Regions from separate parts of the Homo sapiens genome. Here region 2 is linked to region 1. Evidence: promoter capture Hi-C in human tissues and cell types (Jung and others, 2019). All regions are on one chromosome and are shown on one strand. The core of a region is centred on a gene start or on the middle of the fragment in contact, and the rest is flanking DNA. Distances in the headings are between cores, read along the strand shown. Region 1 holds the start of PRDM6 (PR/SET domain 6). Region 2 has its middle 150 kb from the start of CEP120.

Region 1 (4,931 bases), core at 1,709-4,208:
TTTTTGAAATCTGTTGGGAGAGTATAATGTTGTAAAACTTTCTGAAACTCTGAAATACAAGTCTTCTCAACTGCACAGCAAAATTAGAGTTGAAACCACTATTTTAAGCCAGTGCTTTACTCTCAAACTTCATAAAGAAAAAAGTAAATACGATTGCTCTTTCTGTTGGTAATTATTATCTCCATCACAGCTATGTCCAACATAATGAAAATATTCATAGACCTCAACCACGAGGCAGTTGCCCAGTGTTTTTTTTTTCATCAAATCAACGACTTAGGGAATCCTTTAAAGAGCTATAACTGAACTTATTTTGCTTTTACAACGAATTAAGAAGTTCACAGAGCGGTAGACATTTTGCAAGAAGCAACTTATTCAAAATTGAATAAAAATAAATGTTTTAAATTAACTTTACTCATACAGAAGCCAGACGAAGGAATGAGATGAAGAAAATAGCTGAATGAATGCTGATCTTTCAAATCCTGTATTGCTTTCAATCTGACGCTCTTAACACACTTTAATGTTATCTCCAGAAGTCTCTGGGAGCACGTTTAACACTCCCAACACAGTATAGGTGTAAACACAGTATAACTTCTGAAATTATCAAAAAGAAGCAGGTATAAAGCAGTACATATTGCTTGATCTTCATTTAGAGTTTTGCTTCAAAACCGCCAAATGGAACTGTACTTGTGATAAGCGTTTCAAATTGTGAATATAGAAACCGAAGCTACAGGAATTCTGATGTTTAGTTAGGCATTTGCTATTAACTTGGAGGAAGAGGGGAGTAAGCGTCTTTTACTAAATTACAGTCACCCTAATTTCTAAAAATAAATACATAAACCAACATGGGTTATGAATGTTTGCGGGGTCAAAGGTGCGCGGATAAAGCGGGATCAGCGGAATCGGAGGAGAACAGAAATTTTCTTCTCAGTAAGTAGCAGTCATTTTTTTTTCTTTTCCTTCTTTTTAAATGAATAGTAGATCTAAGAATACTGCCTGCCTTCAAGGAGAAACGGACTCAGTTTCATCTAAAATTCCTACTCCAGTGAGGCCTGGCCAGCGAACAGCTCCCGCCGGTTCCCCCACAACCCCGCGGCCCGAAAATGACCCCTCCAGAGGTGGGGTGGAGAGTAGCAAAAACAAGCCCTGGTCTGCGTGCTCCCCAGAGACGCTGAGGGTCCCTCCCTCGTCCCGGCTAAGGCCAGGCAGGGCCTGACCCAGACACCCCCTGTCACACGCTGCCAGTACCCGCCTGGCCCCGGGCACTGTCCGGCGGGAGGGCAGAGGTCTGTTAGGCCGGGTCCACGGTAGACTCCGGCCCCAAACACTTGGGACTGTGAAGCAGGTGAGGAGAGGGAGGGAGAGGGAACCCCAAAGTGCCACCGGCCGTCCCATCCGTTCTCTTTCCTTCTCCAACGCCAGAAAACTTTTGTCACAGAGATCGGGGAGGCGCGGGCCAGCGGCCAGGACCAGGTGCTCCCCACCCACCCGGCCCCGTGTCACTCCTATCCGACCCGCCTCCCTGACAGGCACCCGCGCCCGCCGGCGCCGGCGCCGGCGCCCCGGGAGAGAGCGCGCGGGCTGCGGCTACGTACGGTTGTTGGGGTCGCTGGTGTGCTGGTTGAGCGGGATGATCTCCATGCGCTGCTGGCCATACAGGTAATAGTCCAGCTCCTCTGCGCTGCAGCGGAAGCGCGGGGCGCCGCGACCCTCCCCGCCGCCGCCGCCACCACCACCGCACTTGACGGGCCCGGGGCCGGAGGTGGCGCCGAGGCACAGTTCCTTGGGGGGCAGCGGCTCGGCGGCGACGGCAGCGGCGGCTAGAGGCGCGAACACCGGCAGCTGCGACACCGGCAGGGCCGAGAGACCAGCCAGCGCGGCGGCAGCGGCCGCAGCAGCGCAGGAGGAGGCGGAGGAGGCGGAGGTGGAAGAGGAAGCCGGCGTGGACGAGGCGGAGGAGAGAGAGGCGGGCCGCGGGCGCAGGCTGTCCGGCGGAGGCTCAGCGCGCTCCGGGGGCGGGGGCGGCGGCGGCGGCTGAAGAGGCTGCGGCGCGCTCAGGAGACCCGCGGCGCCGCTGCCCTTGAGCGGGCCTGCGCCTCCGTGAGGGAAGAGTTGCTGCCAGTGCTGCAGGTAGGCTGGGTCCACTTTGAGGAAGGCCGAACCGCCGGGGTCTCCGGGCTTCAGCATGTCCGGCGCCTCGAACTGGGGGCAGAGGGCAGGGAAGAGGGGGCGCGTGAGCTGGGCGAAAGGGGCCGGGAAGAGGGCCACTGGGACCCTGGAGAAAGTGCCCGAGCCGGTGGTTCAGCCGGCGGCCGCCCGGTTCCGCGGCTCCCTCTTCCCAACTCCGCTTGGGCGCAAAGTTTACTCCGAAGCTGCGGCGCCGCACAGAGGGAGCTGTGTGCACCCTGCTCTGCCTCCCCGATCGCAGCGTCCAGCTCCCATCCAGCAATGCTGGGGCCCGACAGGAGGGCGCTGCCCCGTAGAACTCGGCTGCAGGACGCAGCCCCCGCCCTCAGCCAGCGCCCGGAGCCGACCCGAGCCGGCGTGGCGCAGCGCCCGAGCCGCGTTGGCCTCAGGCGCCAGGAGGCAGAACAGTCTCGCCGCCCGCCCCCAACCTAGGACCACCAACCTTCCTATCTACCAAGCCCTAGACTCTTAAGTCCCAGACCAGCCTCACCTTACCTGAAAACTCGGTGCTGCCGGTGGGTGCGTGCGGGTGTCTCGGTGAGCGTGCGGGTGCGCGAGAGTGTGCGCCCTGCGTGCGCTACATGCCCCTGAGCAGCGCGGGAGGAGAGTCCTAGAGATTGTGCCGCCCGGAAACCTCCCGACCTGCAAGCGAGAAAATTGGGAGGCCCGCGGAGGGCGCGAGAGTGCGGACGGACCTGGGCGCCCGACTCAACCGCCGTGGGCTGCTGCGCTTGGCCGCTGCCGCGTCCTGGCTCCTTGGTTCCACGCTCTGGCAGCTTCCCGGCTGGACACGTGGGTTTTACGACAGCACAAAATAGAGTGAGTGTGTGTGTGTGTGTGTGTGTGTGTGTGTGTGTGTGTGTGTGTGTGTGTGTGTGTGTGTGTGTGAGAGAGAGAGAGAGAGAGAGAGAGAGAGAGAGAGAGAGAGAGAGAGAGAACGGAGGGGGGAGGGGAGGCAGGCCAGAAGAAGGGGAGGGGAGAGGGAAGAAGGAAGTTCTAATTCGGCCCGACCCACATCGCCAGAGCGCCTTTCCCGCACAAACTCCTCCGCCCTCCCATCCCCTGTTTTTTTGGCGTGACGTCTGCCGCTAGCCTGTTGTCTCTTTCTGCCCATGATATGTCTTTTCTGGGTCCCAGCTCAGTGCCCTGATCTTGAAAGCAGTGGAAATGCGGCAACGGGAATGCATCTCCGCACACGCTGTGGTGTCCGCGCTGGAGCAAGCCCGCGCCGCCAGGACCGGGTTTGCGCTTTTGCCCGGCTCAGTTTTTCCTGAAGTGCTTCTGGGTGCCAGAGTCCACTCGCCCGCCACGCAACCTCTAACATAAATCCTCCGGGGAGAAAAGTTGGGGGCGGAGCGGGACGGGTTGCGCGCTGCAGTGAAACCCTCTGTCTGCAGCCCAGGAGGGAGGCTTGTCGGTGCAGGGAGGCGTAGGACCGAGGGTCCTGAGACCGAGAGCAGCTGGTCCTGGAGGGACTCAAGCTTGGCCGTGGGGCTGGGAGGCGGCTGCAATGGAGTCTGCACTCCACCCAGCGCTCTGCTGACCCCTTCTCGGGTTGTCTTCTGGAGGGCTCTTTCCCTCTCCTTCTTGGGGCCCGGAGACAAGTATCCAGTGTTACGTCTGGTGGCACAACTGCTCCGGGACACGGGCGAGGCTGTTTGCGGTCAGCTGCCTGCGGCTGCCGCAGGAGGTCACGCATAGGTTTCTCTACCCAAAACCTGGTGTTAGAGGGGCAGGGTGGGAGTGCAGCCCCACCTCCACCATGTCCTCTCCCCAGACTTTGTGCCAGGGCAGCCCTTCGATGCAGTCTCGCACCCACGAAGGAGGCACTTGCCCCCCAGCTCTTCCTGGCATTTTCGGTAGTAGATGGTAGAGGGCACAGGCAGGGTGTGTGAAATTGACCGACTCAGGAGGTACTTTCCCATCGCCGGGGTTCTGGCCATACCGTAAAGAGAAGAAACGGCATTTATCTTTTTCCAAACAACCTAACTTATTTAGCACTTGCCAATCTGAGCAATTAATAGCCATTCTTTCCTGATTTCTGCTTGTTTCTTTTTCTCTTCCCACCACTCAAGTTTTCTGAACCTGGGAAACGTGCTGTTCAGACTTCATCCGGGTCTCATTCAGGATGCTTCGATGTTGGTTGGAAGAGAGTTAGACCGAAAATGTTTTGACTGGCGTCGTTATGACAAGGTCATCCGTCATTGTTGGATAGATTGATAGCACCCAAGTTTAAGGCAGACACCACGAGGGAAAGCCCACGGCGCTGTGGTCCCGGAGGCTAACCAGGCAGTGTCCGCAGACCTCCAGCAACTCCATCGGGAGGAGAGGATGAAGTTCCAGGCCCGTTTCAATTAATCTGCTCGCAGAACTGCCGAAGAGTGGCTTGTCGGGCCACGGGAGAAGAAACAAATGCTCTTTCTCACACTCTCCTGGTTCATTGCTGAGAAACCAGGACACTCCTCTGTTCCCTGGGAGAGACAGTGAACTCCAGGGATGGAAGTCCGGACTCCGGCGGCGGTCCCGTCATTTGCCTTCTTGTTTCTGCCCAAACCCAGCTAGTTCCAAGCGCTTGGTCCCCAAGACTGGAAGTCCCCAAGAACCTACCTCTACCTGTCCCAACCCTGCCTCCCCCCTACCCTTTCACCCCCTGCCACCATTAGAAAGTCTCTGGATTTTGAAATGCTAGTTGCAGCAGCTGCTTCCGTGGCCTCATGCCGCCCACACTCTGGGAAGCGGAGGAGGGA
Region 2 (4,931 bases), core at 1,614-4,113, 180 kb before region 1:
AAACCACATCTCCTTCACTGATCATACTCTGTCCCGCTGGGGCTCTTTCATTTCTTTAAATGGTTCAATATCTTTCCTGACCCACAGCCATCCAAACATAGTGTTCTGTCTGGAACCCCATTTTTTCTTCTGTCATCCATTTGGTGCCAACACATCTTTTGGGTCTCAGCTGAAATGCCACTTTGTCCCAAAGCCCATCCCTGGCCTCCCAGTTGAGGTCAGGCCCTATCACATACTCTCATATGTCCCTCTGTTTTTCCTTCGTGGCTCTTCTCACAATAGAAATGACTTGATATAACATGTCTGTTTGCCAGCCACTCTATCCCTAGGACTGGGCACAGCCCAGATTCTTTAAAAGCATTCTTAAATAAATGAACAAATGCCTAAGTTAATGAAAATTGGGCAAGCTTAGAGTGTGTTTGGCCGAGGCTGACAATGACAATAGAAACTTTTAAAGTTGGAAGTGATCTGGAATCCCTTTAAGCTAAGCCACTCATTTATTGATAAATGATGGATCCAGAAAGGAGAAGTCATCTGTCCAAGGTCACTGAGCTGCTCACCGGCAGATCCTGCTTCTGGATCCAGAGACAGACCCTCCCATTTTTCTCATAGAACTCTGTGGCACTTGAAAAAGGTCCTCGGGGAAGTAAATTCTTTGAGACAAACTGTTTCTGGCTGCTAATAACTGACTAGGAAAGAAAAAATAACGTAGGCAGCATTAGTATTTTCCTGATGGATTTAGTTACAGAGATTAAAGTGTCAGCTTGGTAAAGTTCCAGCATGTCTCGGGTTTGACACTAGTTTTAGAGTGAAGGTAAAGACGTCCAGAGCAGACTTTTTGACATGTTGGGGAGCAGCGTCCCAGGGGTCTCTCCCTCAGAACCTAGGCTCAGTTTGTACGGTGGGTCTGGTTGGCTCTGGGAGGCCCACAGCTAGAAAGAATAACAGGGTTGTGCCGTCCAGGCCTGAGACCTGTTGGCACTGAAGTGTGGGAAAAGTTCTCACAAGGCCTGCCCACGGTCAGCCCTGTCCAGACCGAGGTTATTAATCTTTCATGTCCCCAAACACTCAAGTCACAGCATTTTGAAAGGGAAAAATAAAGTGGGATGTCATGGGGGCAGTGTGGTAGAGTAGAAAGAACAGCAGAAGGTGACTTGGGAGCCTGGACTTAAGTTCCTTGAAAGAAATCAAGAGTATTGGACCAGGTGATGTACAAGCTGTCTACTGGCTTTAGGATTGGGCTTGAAGCTTTTAAATCCTGTCCAAATCCAATATATCTAAACACGTTTTCAGGAAGTGGGAATAGGGCTTAGGATCATGGAGTCAGACTGCCTAGAGTCCAGTGTTGGCTTTACCATATATTAGCTGTATGCTTTTGACCTCTTAGTGCCTCAATTTCCTCTTCTGTAAAATGGGCTTCATAGGGTTGTTTTGAAAATTACAAGAGAACTCTATTAAGGTGGTTAACATATACTAAGTGTTTGATGAATGTTATCTATAACTAGTATTATCTTCTGACACAGGAAAAGCATGCCCAGAAAAGACGAGGGACTACAGCAAGCCCAAGGCTTACGGTCACTTACACGGAAGAAAGATAGTTCCTCAGCTGTCATCTGTATCCAAATCGTATAAAAAAAAAAATGGTATTCAGGACATAACAAATAGATAAGCACAGTCCAAAACTGTTCGTACAGCCTGATCTCATTTTTGAAAAATTCAATATGAAACCCAATTCTATGTATATAGGTAAGGAGGCACAAAAAAGAATGTTAGCAGCAATTACCTCTGGGAGGCGATGATGGGGCAATCTGTGGCCTATATTTTCTTTTTTATTTCTTATTTGCTTATTTATGCTTTCTAAATTTGCTCAGCAAACACTTCGTGAAAACAAGGATTTTTTTTAATGCTAACATCAGAGGAATTGGAGAAAATAAATCAAATTTTTGTCAATAGCTTTATTATACTTATAGGTTACTCATCATCTGGGACCCTGAATCATTCTCATTTTGTAACTTTTCATTTGGAAGTTATTCCTACAACTGCTTCTGGGCTTTTAGTTGCAAAACAAAACAATGCAAAAATTGAAGGAGTCAAGTGTCAGTGGGAAACTGAAACATGTGGAGAGGGAACACGACAATAACTATTCGTTAAATGGCCAGGCGCGGTGGCTCACACCTGTAATCCCAGCACTTTAGGAGGCCGAGGCGGGCGGATCACTAGGTCAGGAGATCGAGACCATCCTGGCTAACACAGTGAAAACCCAACTCTACTAAAAAAAAAAAGAAAGAAAGAAAAGAAAAAAATTATCTGGGCATGGTGGCAGGTGCTTGTAGTCCCAGCTACTCGGGAGGCTGAGGCAGGAGAATCGCTTGAACCCGGGAGGCAGAGGTTGCAGTGAGCCGAGATTGCACCACTGCACTCTAGCCTGGGTGACAGAGTGAGACTTTGTCTCAAAAACAAAATAATTATCATTTGTTAGATGAATGCAAGAATTAGCGAGATTCACTCAAAATCTCCATGGCATGGAAACTGATTGCACATGGGGTAATATCCATGCTCCTTAATATGAATCACAGTGTGACTCCAATCTTGCAGATACACACACACCCTGAGTTTCTTCAGGCCTGTAGGTACACACAGAGTTACATTAAAGGTAATAATTCAAATTCCACTGGCATTTGTCCCTACCTGCTTAACACAAATCCCCTGAAAGCAATGAAGTCAATGGATAATGAGAAAGTAGAGACTAAATAAAAAGAGAATTATAGTCTGCTATCTTTAAAATGATTTTCTCAGTTGTTTTCTAACATATCAAATTTTAAAAATGTATTTCAAAATGTACGCTTTGGAAGGACGATTACATATTTGTTTCTTTGAAATATGAGGGTTGCATGAATTTGGACGTGCATGTATTTCCTTTCCTATAGTTTGTGTACTTCAGGCAGTCTCTTCCTGGAAAAGGATGGATGGTCTTAAATGTGTTCTATCTCCCATGGCCCTAAGGCGATGCTGGGCAAATGATATCCCAGAATAATCACTTTTTTTTTTTTTTTTTCTTGAGGCAGGGTCTTCCTCTCTCACTCAGTCTGGAGTGCAGTGGTGTGATCATGGCTCACTGCAGCCTCAGCCTCCTGGGTTCAATCAATCCTCCTACCTTGGCCTCCCTAGTAGCTGGGACCACAGGCAGATGCCACTATTCCCAGTTACAACCACATTTTAAAGCTGGCAAAAAAAAAAAAAAAAAAAAGCTTCATGCTTCAAAATCTCTCCTGCCCTTTGACCTAGTGAGGTTACCTGGAATCTCCAAAAGCCAGATGGTCCCTTCATGGCAAGGCTGGGCTCTTTGTGCTCATACTGGCCGTTTTCTTTTTTTCTGCACTAAATACTTATTACAATTAATACTGAATTGAAATAGGAGCCCAAAGCAGTAGCTGGGAATGTCCCAAATCATTTCTCTCACGAAACCTCAATTCTTCTTCCTCCCAGTAATCCAAGGAGTAGAGTGGATCAGATTGAACTTAAAGGTATAATGAGTAAAAAAAGAAAAATTCAAAAGCACTTCTGCCTTTCAACACCTCATCCCTTCTGAAATATTTTAAATAGTGTTTTGGGGAAAAGCAAAGTTGAAGATGGGTAAATAAAGTGTTGAATTAAATTATTCTTTTCCTAGTCATCTGAAGTATTTTATTAGATTACTGCATATCTAGAAAGACCTAGAAACCTACAGGGCCCTTTGTTCTGTGAGGGCCTTCCCTTTGCATTCCTTCTGACCCACCAGTGCCCACTCCCCACCACTTATCCCTAACAGAGGCCTGTCTTAGTGCATTAATGAAATCACTAATGTCCAGCAATAGACACCCTAATACCACTGTTCCTAGAATGACATATATATTACGCTCTGCCTCCGTATCTTTCATGAGGGAGTTTTTATGTGTCACTAAAAAATACTGTATAACACTCTTTATTAGCCCCATGATACCCCAGCCCATCAATACTTGTCCAGGCCTGATGAGATCATGCTATGCTTCTTAATCAGAGTGAAAGACAGCAAGAAATAACTTTATTAAAAAATCAATTAAAAACCAGTTGCCCAGGTGAACAAAACACATCTTTGGGGCATGAGAAGAGGAGTAATAAGGAAATGAAGTGGCAGGAGGCACTGCTGAGAAAAAGGCCTAGTGATTACTGGTCATCTTGGTGTATGTCACTTTTCTTTTTGTTTTGTTTACATAAAACCCTTTCATTCAAACACAAAAAACAGTCACTATTCTCAGGTACCCTGAATGAGGTTTTTAGGAACAGCAATGGGTTTTTGCAGAACCATCTATAGACTCACCTGGTCCACAACACACCCAGCCACAGGCAAGAAGTCAAACTAAAAGCAAGGTAGTGCAGACCTTGGATTTCTGCTTCAGAAATGTTGCAGCAATGATGGCTTAGTATATGTGCTGCTGCTGAAACAAGCACAGAAATGATGGCTTAAAGTGCAGATTTCAGGGTCTATTCCTAGAGAATCTTTTTTAGTCATGTTGAGAAGAACACAGACATCTGAATTTTAAGTAAACATTCCAGGTGAGTTGCATGCAAAAATAAAGCCTGTGCACCACTCTTGTAAGAGGCATGACCCATAAGCCTGCAGTCTTCTTAGTGCAGAAAGTTCACCAGATAGCCACCAGATGGTTAGGTCTCCCAATGTATCCACCCATGTAACCACGCACCCCAACCAAGATATGGAACATTTTCCTCCCTAGAAAGTTCCCACAAACCCCATTACAGTTCTGCCTCATCCCCCGCCCAGACAACCAATGATCTGACTTTCATCTCCCTAGGTTAGTTTTGCCTGTTGCAGAACTTTGTACAAGTAGAACCATACTCTGTTGTGTCTTGCTTCTTCTGCACAGTCATATCTATGAGATGTCATGATATAATGA

The links. Contacts are between HindIII fragments. The study calls those that stand out against the background at their distance.
Region 2: a contact is called between a fragment that was not itself captured here and the fragment with the promoter of PRDM6 in region 1, in 2 of the 25 tissues and cell types used here (adrenal gland and aorta).

Annotation. Positions count from the first base shown.
Region 1 is chr5:123,087,268-123,092,198 of GRCh38, reverse strand. It overlaps PRDM6 (PR/SET domain 6), which reads right to left and starts at 2,958. Exons shown (of 8, transcript NM_001136239.4): 1 at 2,680-2,958; 2 at 1,593-2,199. The coding sequence starts at 2,184. PRDM6-AS1 (PRDM6 antisense RNA 1) reads left to right here and starts at 1,883. Exons shown (of 2, transcript NR_146771.1): 1 at 1,883-2,127; 2 at 4,260-4,931. RefSeq lists enhancers at 3,219-3,763, 3,764-4,308. The HindIII fragment of the contact is 7,641 bases long and covers 1-4,507 here.
Region 2 is chr5:123,266,094-123,271,024 of GRCh38, reverse strand. No RefSeq gene overlaps it. Among named protein-coding and RNA genes, the nearest start is that of CEP120, 150 kb to the left of the region's middle. The HindIII fragment of the contact is 4,069 bases long and covers 829-4,897 here.